2 separate regions of the Homo sapiens genome follow, and region 2 is linked to region 1. Evidence: promoter capture Hi-C in 16 types of primary human blood cells and fetal thymus (Javierre and others, 2016). All regions are on one chromosome and are shown on one strand. The core of a region is centred on a gene start or on the middle of the fragment in contact, and the rest is flanking DNA. Distances in the headings are between cores, read along the strand shown. Region 1 holds the start of NFKBIA (NFKB inhibitor alpha). Region 2 overlaps SNX6 (sorting nexin 6).

The links. Contacts are between HindIII fragments. The CHiCAGO score rates a contact against its expected background, and 5 or more counts as called.
Region 2: a fragment that was not itself captured here is called in contact with the fragment with the promoter of NFKBIA in region 1 in 1 of 17 cell types (total B cells); the score reaches 7.3 in total B cells.

What each region holds. Positions count from the first base shown.
Region 1 is chr14:35,403,499-35,408,118 of GRCh38, reverse strand. It overlaps NFKBIA (NFKB inhibitor alpha), which reads left to right and starts at 3,370. Exons shown (of 6, transcript NM_020529.3): 1 at 3,370-3,701; 2 at 4,321-4,429. The coding sequence starts at 3,475. RefSeq lists enhancers at 872-931, 2,909-3,308, 2,513-3,384, 4,489-4,538, 4,569-4,620 and silencers at 3,379-3,548, 3,699-4,288. The HindIII fragment of the contact is 3,306 bases long and covers 2,724-4,620 here.
Region 2 is chr14:34,599,315-34,603,934 of GRCh38, reverse strand. SNX6 (sorting nexin 6) reads left to right here. Exons shown (of 14, transcript NM_152233.4): 6 at 464-587. Among named protein-coding and RNA genes, the nearest start is that of SNX6, 29 kb to the left of the region's middle. The HindIII fragment of the contact is 6,636 bases long and covers 1-4,620 here.

The DNA of each region.
Region 1 (4,620 bases), core at 2,121-4,620:
GTTTTGTTTTGTTTTTTGAGACAGAGTCTCACCCTGTTGCCCAGGCTGGCGTGCAATGGCGCGATCTCGGCTCACTGCAACCTCTGCCTCCTCGGTTCAAGTGATTCTCCTGCCTCAGCCTCCTAAGCAGCATCTGCACCACCACACCCGACTAATTTTTTGTATCTTTAGTAGAGACGGGGTTTCATCATGTTGGCCAGGCTGGTCTCGAACTCCTGACCTCATGATCCACCTGCCTCAGCCTCCCAAAGTGCTGAGATTATAGGCGTGAGCCACTGCGCACAGCCTACAGTTTTAACATTTTTTTTAACGGTTATGTTAGCTAGAATGTTTGACAATGAGGAGGAGAAAAATCTGAGTGCTGAAGGGTCCATAAAGGTCTTTCTTTTTCTTTTTTTTCTTTTTGAGACAGGGTCTCAGTCTGTTGCTCAAGCTGGAGTGCAGTTGTGCCATCATGGCTCACTACAAACTCCACCTCCCAGGCTCAAGCAATTCTCCCACTTCTGCCTCTGGAGTAGCTGGGACTACAGGCACCTGCCACCACACTCTGCTAATTATATTTTTTGTAGAGACAAGAGTTTAGCCTTGTTGCCCAGGCTGGTCTCCAACTCCTGGGTGGCAAGCAATCCTCCTGCCTCAGCAACCCAAAGTGCTGAAATTACAGCAGTGAGCCACAACTCCTGGCCCATAAAGGTCTTTCTAAATCAAAACCAGACCCTCTTGTTGTCTTCTGCCCAGTCTGCTCATGGTTCTAATTTCCAAGTGTATATTCTTTTTCACCCACGTTGTAATGTTTGTTGACTTAAACCATATAGCGCTATAGATGATGGGGAGAAAACCTGTTGGATCACATTATTCAAAACTGTTTCCCAGAGTCGCAGGAAAACAATAGGTACCTCCTTGGAAATCTCCACTGTAGGGACAAGTCATCAAGGCTCAGCACCTCCCAATTTTTGCAAAAGGCACTATGACAAATCAAGGAACGCCTGTGCCTTACTCTTACCACTAGGTGTCACACAAAACAATCAGGAATAAACACCAAGATCCTGAAGGCTACCAGAAATATAAAACCATAGAAGGTGGTGCAAAAAAACCTTATTCCTCAGATATTTTTATTTTTTATAACCATTTTTATACCTGAAGCCAAATATCTTCTTCTGATGTATCCTCTATAATTGGGACATTTAGAGTTTGATGTTTCTGTACTTGTTTAAAAGAAGTGACTATCCCCAGATGGGGGTCAGGGGACACCCACCCTTTATTTTCCCTAACAGTTGGAGTAGAAAATACTTTTGAGTACATTCCAAATTATAGTGTAGTCAGTCTGATTTTCACAGCGTGTTTTCAAAAGTGTTAATACTAAGACTGCTTTGGCCAAATGATTAATATACTGCCAAGGGGTTCCTGGGTAAATTTCTATGCATTTCAGTTTCTTTTTAGGGAAGTAGGAACAATATCTATCTTACAAGATTAGTTCTGAGAACAATGTGGTACATAAGGCGCTGGAATTCTTTCAAAAATTTATACCCTGACATTTCCAAGAGCCATGGTCACCCTTACAAAGGAGAGTTAGGCATGCATTTGTAGACAAGCAATATGACTTTTAAGCTAGAAAAGACCTTAAGTAACATTCAATCTAATCTTATTATAAAAGTTAAGTATACCACAAAAAAGTTAACTGACCTCTCCAACTAATGTGCAGTCAAGTAAAGATAGAACCTGGAATTGAGATGTCCCATTGCAGTCACTGTTTCACCTTGCCTCAATCATTGTAGATTTGCATATCATAAACCTGCAGAGACAATGGTGTCTATCCCTGGGAAGTTTTCATTGTAACATGTGATCATTATTACCCTGGAGGGTCTATCTGATTTTAATTTTTTTCCCTTCATACTTGGTCTCTCTCTATCGAGTCAGATTTCTTTCATTCTAATATTAGGGGAGGGGTGGAGATACGAAGAGAGGGGAAGGATTGGTTAGTACAAGGCCAGTCAAGGTAAAGATGATTGCAATAATCACCAGAAATCTCTGCAGAACTACAGAGGCCTCCTGGGACTAATTCTGAAGAGCTCTGACCGAAGTTTGCTTTATTTTGCCTGTACCAATTCTACCAAGTAGATGAATTCAGTCCATGGCTTGCAGGCTTGGAGGTGGAGGTGGAGTGGAGAGCATAAATTATATTTCTGCAGGTGAAACCAGAGCATAGTGAGCCGAAACCCCTTTCTACCCAGGTGGCGTGAATGGGTCCAACTGCTACTGTCCCCCAGGACAAGAGAGCAAGGAGGGGCGGGCAGGATGGGACTACCTTGAGCCTCCCGCAGGATGCCTGGCAACTACTTTCTTAGTGGTCCTTAAGGTCCAATCGCGGTTAAGGCACTAACTAAACTCATTCTTCAGCCTCCTTCTCTAAGTTCTCCTCGAATTTGGGTGCCCAGAAGTAGGCTCACGATCCTTTTTCTGCGGGAGCACAATGTAGGTCAGATAGCATAAACGAATAGCTACTTATGAACACAATAGCTACTCTGCTATTGCAAGGTATCCACAACCACCACTACAAACATTAACACCTTGCTTTACTTGGGAAACAAAAAAAATCATGGTCCTATTCAGCAGTTTCCCCATACAGGGAGCGTTTGCCCCTCCCCCAGTCAACAGGGCTGTTCATCCCTAGGAAGTGATTTGAGAGTTCTCCAAGGATTTAGGCTTTTCACTCCTCCAAAGCTTTCACAACTTCTACCTGGCGGGGGTGCGTGGGGGGGTGGGGGCGAAGCTAAAAGTTCCTTTGCTGCAAAGAGCCTGGTATAGGCAGAAACACCGGCGCGGCCTGCAGCCCCCTAACCACAGTGCGTCCTTCCCCTTAGAAGTCTGGGGAAAGCAAATCCCTACGCCCAGCCATCATTTCCACTCTTGCGTTTTCAAAAGATCAAAAAACGGAAAGGACCGGCAGGTTGGCAAACCCCAAAGAGGGACCGCCCATCAGGTCGGCGTCCTTGGGATCTCAGCAGCCGACGACCCCAATTCAAATCGATCGTGGGAAACCCCAGGGAAAGAAGGCTCACTTGCAGAGGGACAGGATTACAGGGTGCAGGCTGCAGGGAAGTACCGGGGGGAGGGGGCCTGGTCGGAAGGACTTTCCAGCCACTCGGCGCTCATCAAAAAGTTCCCTGTCCGTGACCCTAGTGGCTCATCGCAGGGAGTTTCTCCGATGAACCCCAGCTCAGGGTTTAGGCTTCTTTTTCCCCCTAGCAGAGGACGAAGCCAGTTCTCTTTTTCTGGTCTGACTGGCTTGGAAATTCCCCGAGCCTGACCCCGCCCCAGAGAAATCCCCAGCCAGCGTTTATAGGGCGCCGCGGCGGCGCTGCAGAGCCCACAGCAGTCCGTGCCGCCGTCCCGCCCGCCAGCGCCCCAGCGAGGAAGCAGCGCGCAGCCCGCGGCCCAGCGCACCCGCAGCAGCGCCCGCAGCTCGTCCGCGCCATGTTCCAGGCGGCCGAGCGCCCCCAGGAGTGGGCCATGGAGGGCCCCCGCGACGGGCTGAAGAAGGAGCGGCTACTGGACGACCGCCACGACAGCGGCCTGGACTCCATGAAAGACGAGGAGTACGAGCAGATGGTCAAGGAGCTGCAGGAGATCCGCCTCGAGCCGCAGGAGGTGCCGCGCGGCTCGGAGCCCTGGAAGCAGCAGCTCACCGAGGACGGGGACTCGTAAGTGGCGGAGGCCCGGGGCTGGGGGTCGTCGGGAGGGCGGGACGCGCGCGGCCTGGGGGTGGGAGGCGCCGGGCCTGGAGCCCGAGCCGGGGGACCAGCGATGCAGCCGGGCGGGCGCCGCGGCACCCCGGGGCTCCTGCACCGCCCCGAACGCTGCAGGGCTGCAGGGCCGCGCGGGGCACCGGCCCAACTCGGAGGGGCGGCGGCTGGGCCCTGGTGGATGGCAGCGTCGCCACACGCCCCCTCCCCCCAGACCCGTCCTCTAGGCCGGGGGCGGGGCGGCAGCGGGGACGCGAAGTCCCCGGTTGCATAAGGCGGGGCGGGAGTTTCTGGCCGCTGGCGGGCGCCGAGCAGCCGGGAGGGGAAGTACAGGGCGTTCCGAGCTGGCGGGAGGGCGGGGCGGTCTGGCCGGCGCCCGCCGGGGCCGCGGGGGGAGGGGGGCGGAAAGTCCCTGGGCGCCTGCCAGGAACACTCAGCTCATAATAACCTCGCGGAAAACACCGCGGCCTCGGCCTCCAGAAACCCCGGCCTTGCGCAATCCCCCGCAGCCCGCGCCTCCCTGGGCCCCACGCGGTGCACTCACCACCCCTGGGGTTTTTCCCTCTCTTCCCCACAGGTTCCTGCACTTGGCCATCATCCATGAAGAAAAGGCACTGACCATGGAAGTGATCCGCCAGGTGAAGGGAGACCTGGCCTTCCTCAACTTCCAGAACAACCTGCAGCAGGTGCGCCGCTTGCCTGGCCCGGGTTCTCTCTGACCCTGGGACGTAGCTGATGTAGCAGAGTCACCCCAGATCCTTTCTGAATTCAGGGCCACTGAGCACTATTTACCCTCACCTTTTACTTCACATCAGCCCACATCCTAGAGAGTGAAGGAAATTCCACTGATTTGGTGAGGTCTTTATGACCCACCTGG
Region 2 (4,620 bases), core at 675-3,174, 800 kb after region 1:
GTGTGTTTGGGTAATTAGATGAAAATAATTATTAACGTTGAAAATATGCTCACCGAGGTTTGGGTTTTAATTTTTTTTGTACTAAGTTGTTTAAAAGCAGTCATTGGATATTGAATCATTAAGATTCTATCAAATAATTTGTAGCACACTTCCTGTAGAGCTGAGAACAAGCAGCCCTATAGTTAACTTTAACATCAACTCGCATAAGTAAGAAAAATTTGTAAAACTTAAAAATATTAACATTTAGATATAAATATTATTAACTGGCATGAAACCTTTTTCAAAGCTGGGTTTTATGTATTTCATTAACAGTTCAACTAAAAACCTTGTTTACATGAATTATATCTTTGTATCTCTGATTTGCATTCGGAATAATCCAAAGAGTATTTTCTGAAAAAAATTGTTGCAGGTGACTTTTTAGTTGATGGAGTTTTTTACCTTTAATTTTGTATATTGTTTCTAGTGAATATTTGGCAATATTCAAGAAGACAGTTGCGATGCATGAAGTGTTCCTGTGTCGTGTGGCAGCACATCCTATTTTGAGAAGAGATTTAAATTTCCATGTCTTCTTGGAATATAATCAAGATGTGAGTATCACATTGATTGGTGGTCAAGTTTTCTTTTTCTTCTTCTTCTTCTTTTTTTTTTTGAGACGGAATCTCGCTCTGTCTTCCAGGCTGGAGTACAGTGGCATAGTGGCATGATCTTGGCTCACTGCAAGCTCCGCCTCCCGGGTTCATGCCATTCTCCTGCCTCAGCCTCCCTAGTAGCTGGGACTACAGGCGCCTGCCACCACGCCCAGCTAATTTTTTCTATTTTGAAGTAAAGATGGTGTTTCACCGTGTTAGCCAGAATGGTCTCGATCTCCTGACCTCATGATCCACCCACCTCGGCCTCCCAAAGTGCTAGGATTACAGGCGTGAGCCATAGCGCCCAGCCCAAGTTTTTTTTTTTTTTTTGAGACGGAGTCTCGCTCTGTCAGCCAGGCTGGAGTGCAGTGGCGTCATCTCAGCTCACTGCAAGCTCCGCCTCCCGGGTTCATGCCATTCTCCTGCCTCAGCCTCCCGAGTAGCTGGGACTACAGGCGCCCGCCACTATGCCCTGCTAATTTTTTGTATTTTTAGTAGAGACGGGGTTTCACTGTGTTAGCCAGGATGGTCTCGATCTCCTGACCTCGTGATCCACCCACCTCAGCCTCCCAAAGTGCTGGGATTACAGGCATAAGCCACCGTGCCCGGCCCCAAGTTCTCTTTTTAAAGAGTCATTGGAAAAGGCAAGAGTAGTTAGAAAAGGCTCAAGGTCTTTTTTTAGAATGTTTGTATTTTTCTTTTTTTTTTTTTTTTTGAGACAGAGTCTTGCTCTGTCGTCCAGGCTGAAGTGCCGTGGCGCAATCTTGGCTCACTGTGACCTCCTCCTCCCAAGTTCAAGTGATTCTCGTGCCTCAGCCTCCCAAGTAGCTGGGACTACAGGCGCATGCCGCCATGCCCAGCTAATTTTTTTTTTTTTTTTAAGACAGTTTCGCTCTTGTTTCCCAAGCTGGAGTGCAACGGTGCGATCTCAGCTCACCCACAACCTCTGCCTCCTTGGTTCAAGCAATTCTTCTGCCTCAGACTCTCAAGTAGCTGGGATTACAGGAATGCGCCACCATGCCAAGATAATTTTTGTATTTTTAGTAGAGACGGGGTTTCTCCATGTTGGTCAGGCTGGTCTCAAACTCCCAGCCTCAGGTGATCCTCCCACCTTAGCCTCCCAAAGTGCTGGGATTACATGCATGAGCCACTGCGCCCGGCCTAATTTTTGTATTTTTAGTAGAGATGGAGTTTCACCATGTTGGCCAGGCTGGTCTCGAACTCCTGACCTCAGGTGATCCACCTGCCTCAGCCTCCCAAAGTGCTGGGATTAGAGGCGTGAGCCGCACCTGGCCTGTTTGTATTTTTCAAGGTAGTTTAAGTGACACTTTTTCAGTAGTAATGCAGTTATTTCAGTAGAACTTGAGTAGATTAATTGACAGAATGATAGTTAAGCATGTTACTAGCCAGGCATGGTGGCTCATGCCTGTAACCTGTAATCCCAGCACTTTGGGAGGCCAAGCCGGGCAGATCACCTGAGGTCAGGAGTTCGAGACGAGCCTGGCCAACATGGTGAAACCCCATCTGTACTAAAAATACAAAAATTATCTGGGCATGGTGGTGGGCGCCTGTAATCCCAGCTACTCGGGAGGCTAAGACAGGAGAATCACTTGAACCTGGGAGGCGGAGGTTGCAGAGAGCCAAGATGGTGCCATTGCACTCCAGCCTGGGGGACAAGACTGAAATTCCCATCTCAAAAAATAAAAATAAAAAATAAATCATGTTACTACAAGGGACACTGATTTTTTTTGTAATCCTTAATTGCAAACCTCTTAAGAAGTAGGAGCCAGGCACGGTGGCTCAGCCTATAATCCAGCACTTTGGGAGGCCGAGGTGGGCGGATCACGAGGTCAGGAGTTTGAGACCAGCCTGGCCAATATGGTGAAACCCCGTCTCTACTTAAAATACAAAAATTAGCTGGGCTTGGTGGCGCATGCCTGTAGTCCCAGCTACTCGGGAGACTGAGGCAAGAGAATCGCTTGACCCCGGGAGGCGGAGGTTGCAGTGAGCCAAGGTTGCGCCACTGCATTCCAGCCTGGGTGACAAAGCGAGACTCCGTCTCAAAAAAAAAAAAAAAAAAAAAAAAGAAATAGGGTTATCACATTGACTAATGTTTCTTAAATTTGAGTTTGGAGTCTTCCGAAGCCTTGTGGAGAATTCCAAGGAGGTGATTGAGCTAAAGAATTCCAGATTCGGGTAAATTATTGACTCTGGATCTGTTTAACTGACCATTGGTGCTGATCACTCCTTATTTTTTCCTTCCCTGCCTAAAAACTCTCTTTTTTTTTTTTTGAGGCAGAGTCTCTGTCGCCCAGGCTGGAGTGCAATGGCACTGTATCGACTCAGTACAACCTCTGCTTCCCAGGTTCAAGCGACTCCTCTGCCTCCACCTCCCGAGTAGCCACCATACCTGGCTAATTCTTATATTTTAATAGAGACAGGGTTTCACCATATTGGTCAGGCTGGTCTCGAACTCCTGACCTCAGGTGATCTGCCTGCGTCGGCCTCCCAAGGTGCTGGGATTACAGGTGTGAGCCACCATGCCTGGCCGAGGTGATTGCACTTTAAAGATTTCTTCGTTCATAGTGCTGGCAAAAAATTTTTTACTGAATGACTGATACAAATCTTGGAACCTGTGTTTGGATGACAAGATTAATTCATAATTTTTGCAGAAAATAAATATAGCATAGTGCTCATGTACAGGTTAACCTCAAGATCAAAGAATTTGGGCCAGTTGTAGTAAGTCACACCTTTAATCCCAGTACTTTGGGAGCCTGAGGCAGGAGGATTGCTTGAGCCAAGGAGTTCGAGACCAGCCTGGGCAACATAGTGAGACCTGTCTCTTTTTAAAAAAAAAAAAAAGAAGAAGAAGAAAGAAAAATGCCGGGTGCGGTGGCTCATTCCTGTAATCCCAACACTTGGGAGGCCAAGGCAAGGTATTCACTTGAGGCCAGTAGTTCAAGACCAGCCTGGGCAACATGGTGAAACCCCTGTCTCTACTAAAAACGCAAACATAAGCTGGACGTGGTGGCGCTTGCCTGTAATCCCAGCTACTTGGGAGGCTGAGACATGAGAATCACTTGAATGTGGGAGGCGGAGGCTGCAGTGAGCTGAGATTGTGCCACAGCATGGGTGACAGAGTGATATTCTGTCTCAAAAGAGAAAAAAGAGAAAAGAAACTAAAATTTTTGAGTAAGAATGAGATGCTCAAAATTTGATTTTAGAAAGCTGTCCCAGGCAACAGAATGGATTGGAATAAGATAAGAATTATTAACTAATACTTCAGTCTAGGAAAGAGATGATGAAGACTTTTACTGGAGAGTAGGAGTGGAAAGGGACAGTTTTAAGTCATTTGCTGTTAGAATTTGAGCTATGAAGAAAGGAAGAAGTTATAAAAATTTCAAGATTTTAATGAGAACTATGGAATTTTAGGGAACATGTCGGAGTCAGAAAGACTGTTTGGATGAAGGGGCCACAGATCAAAAGAGGGAAGACAGAAATTTTGGAGATCAGATTTTTTTTTTTTTTTTTTGAGACAGAGTCTTGCTCTGTTGCCCGGGCTGGAGTACAGTGGTGTGATCTCCGCTCAGTGCAACCTCTGCCTCCCAGGTGCAAGCGATTCTCCAGCCTCAGCCTCCCGAGTAGCTGGGATTACAGGCACATTTCACCATGCCCGGCTAATTTTTTTTTTTTTTTTTTAGACAGAGTTTCGCTCTTGTTGTCCAGGCTGGAATGCAATGGCGTGATATTGGCTCATGGCAACCTCTGCCTCCTGGGTTCAAAAGATTCTCTTGCCTCAGTCTCCCTAGTAGCTGGGATTATAGGCGGATGCCACGACGCCCAGCTAGTTTTAGTATTTTTAGTAGAGACAGGATTTCACCATGTTCTTCAAGGCTAGTTTTGAACTCCTGACCTCAGGTGATTCACCCGCCTTGGCCTCACAAAGTGCTGGGATTACAGGCGTGAGCCACCGTGCCCAGCCCAGAGATTA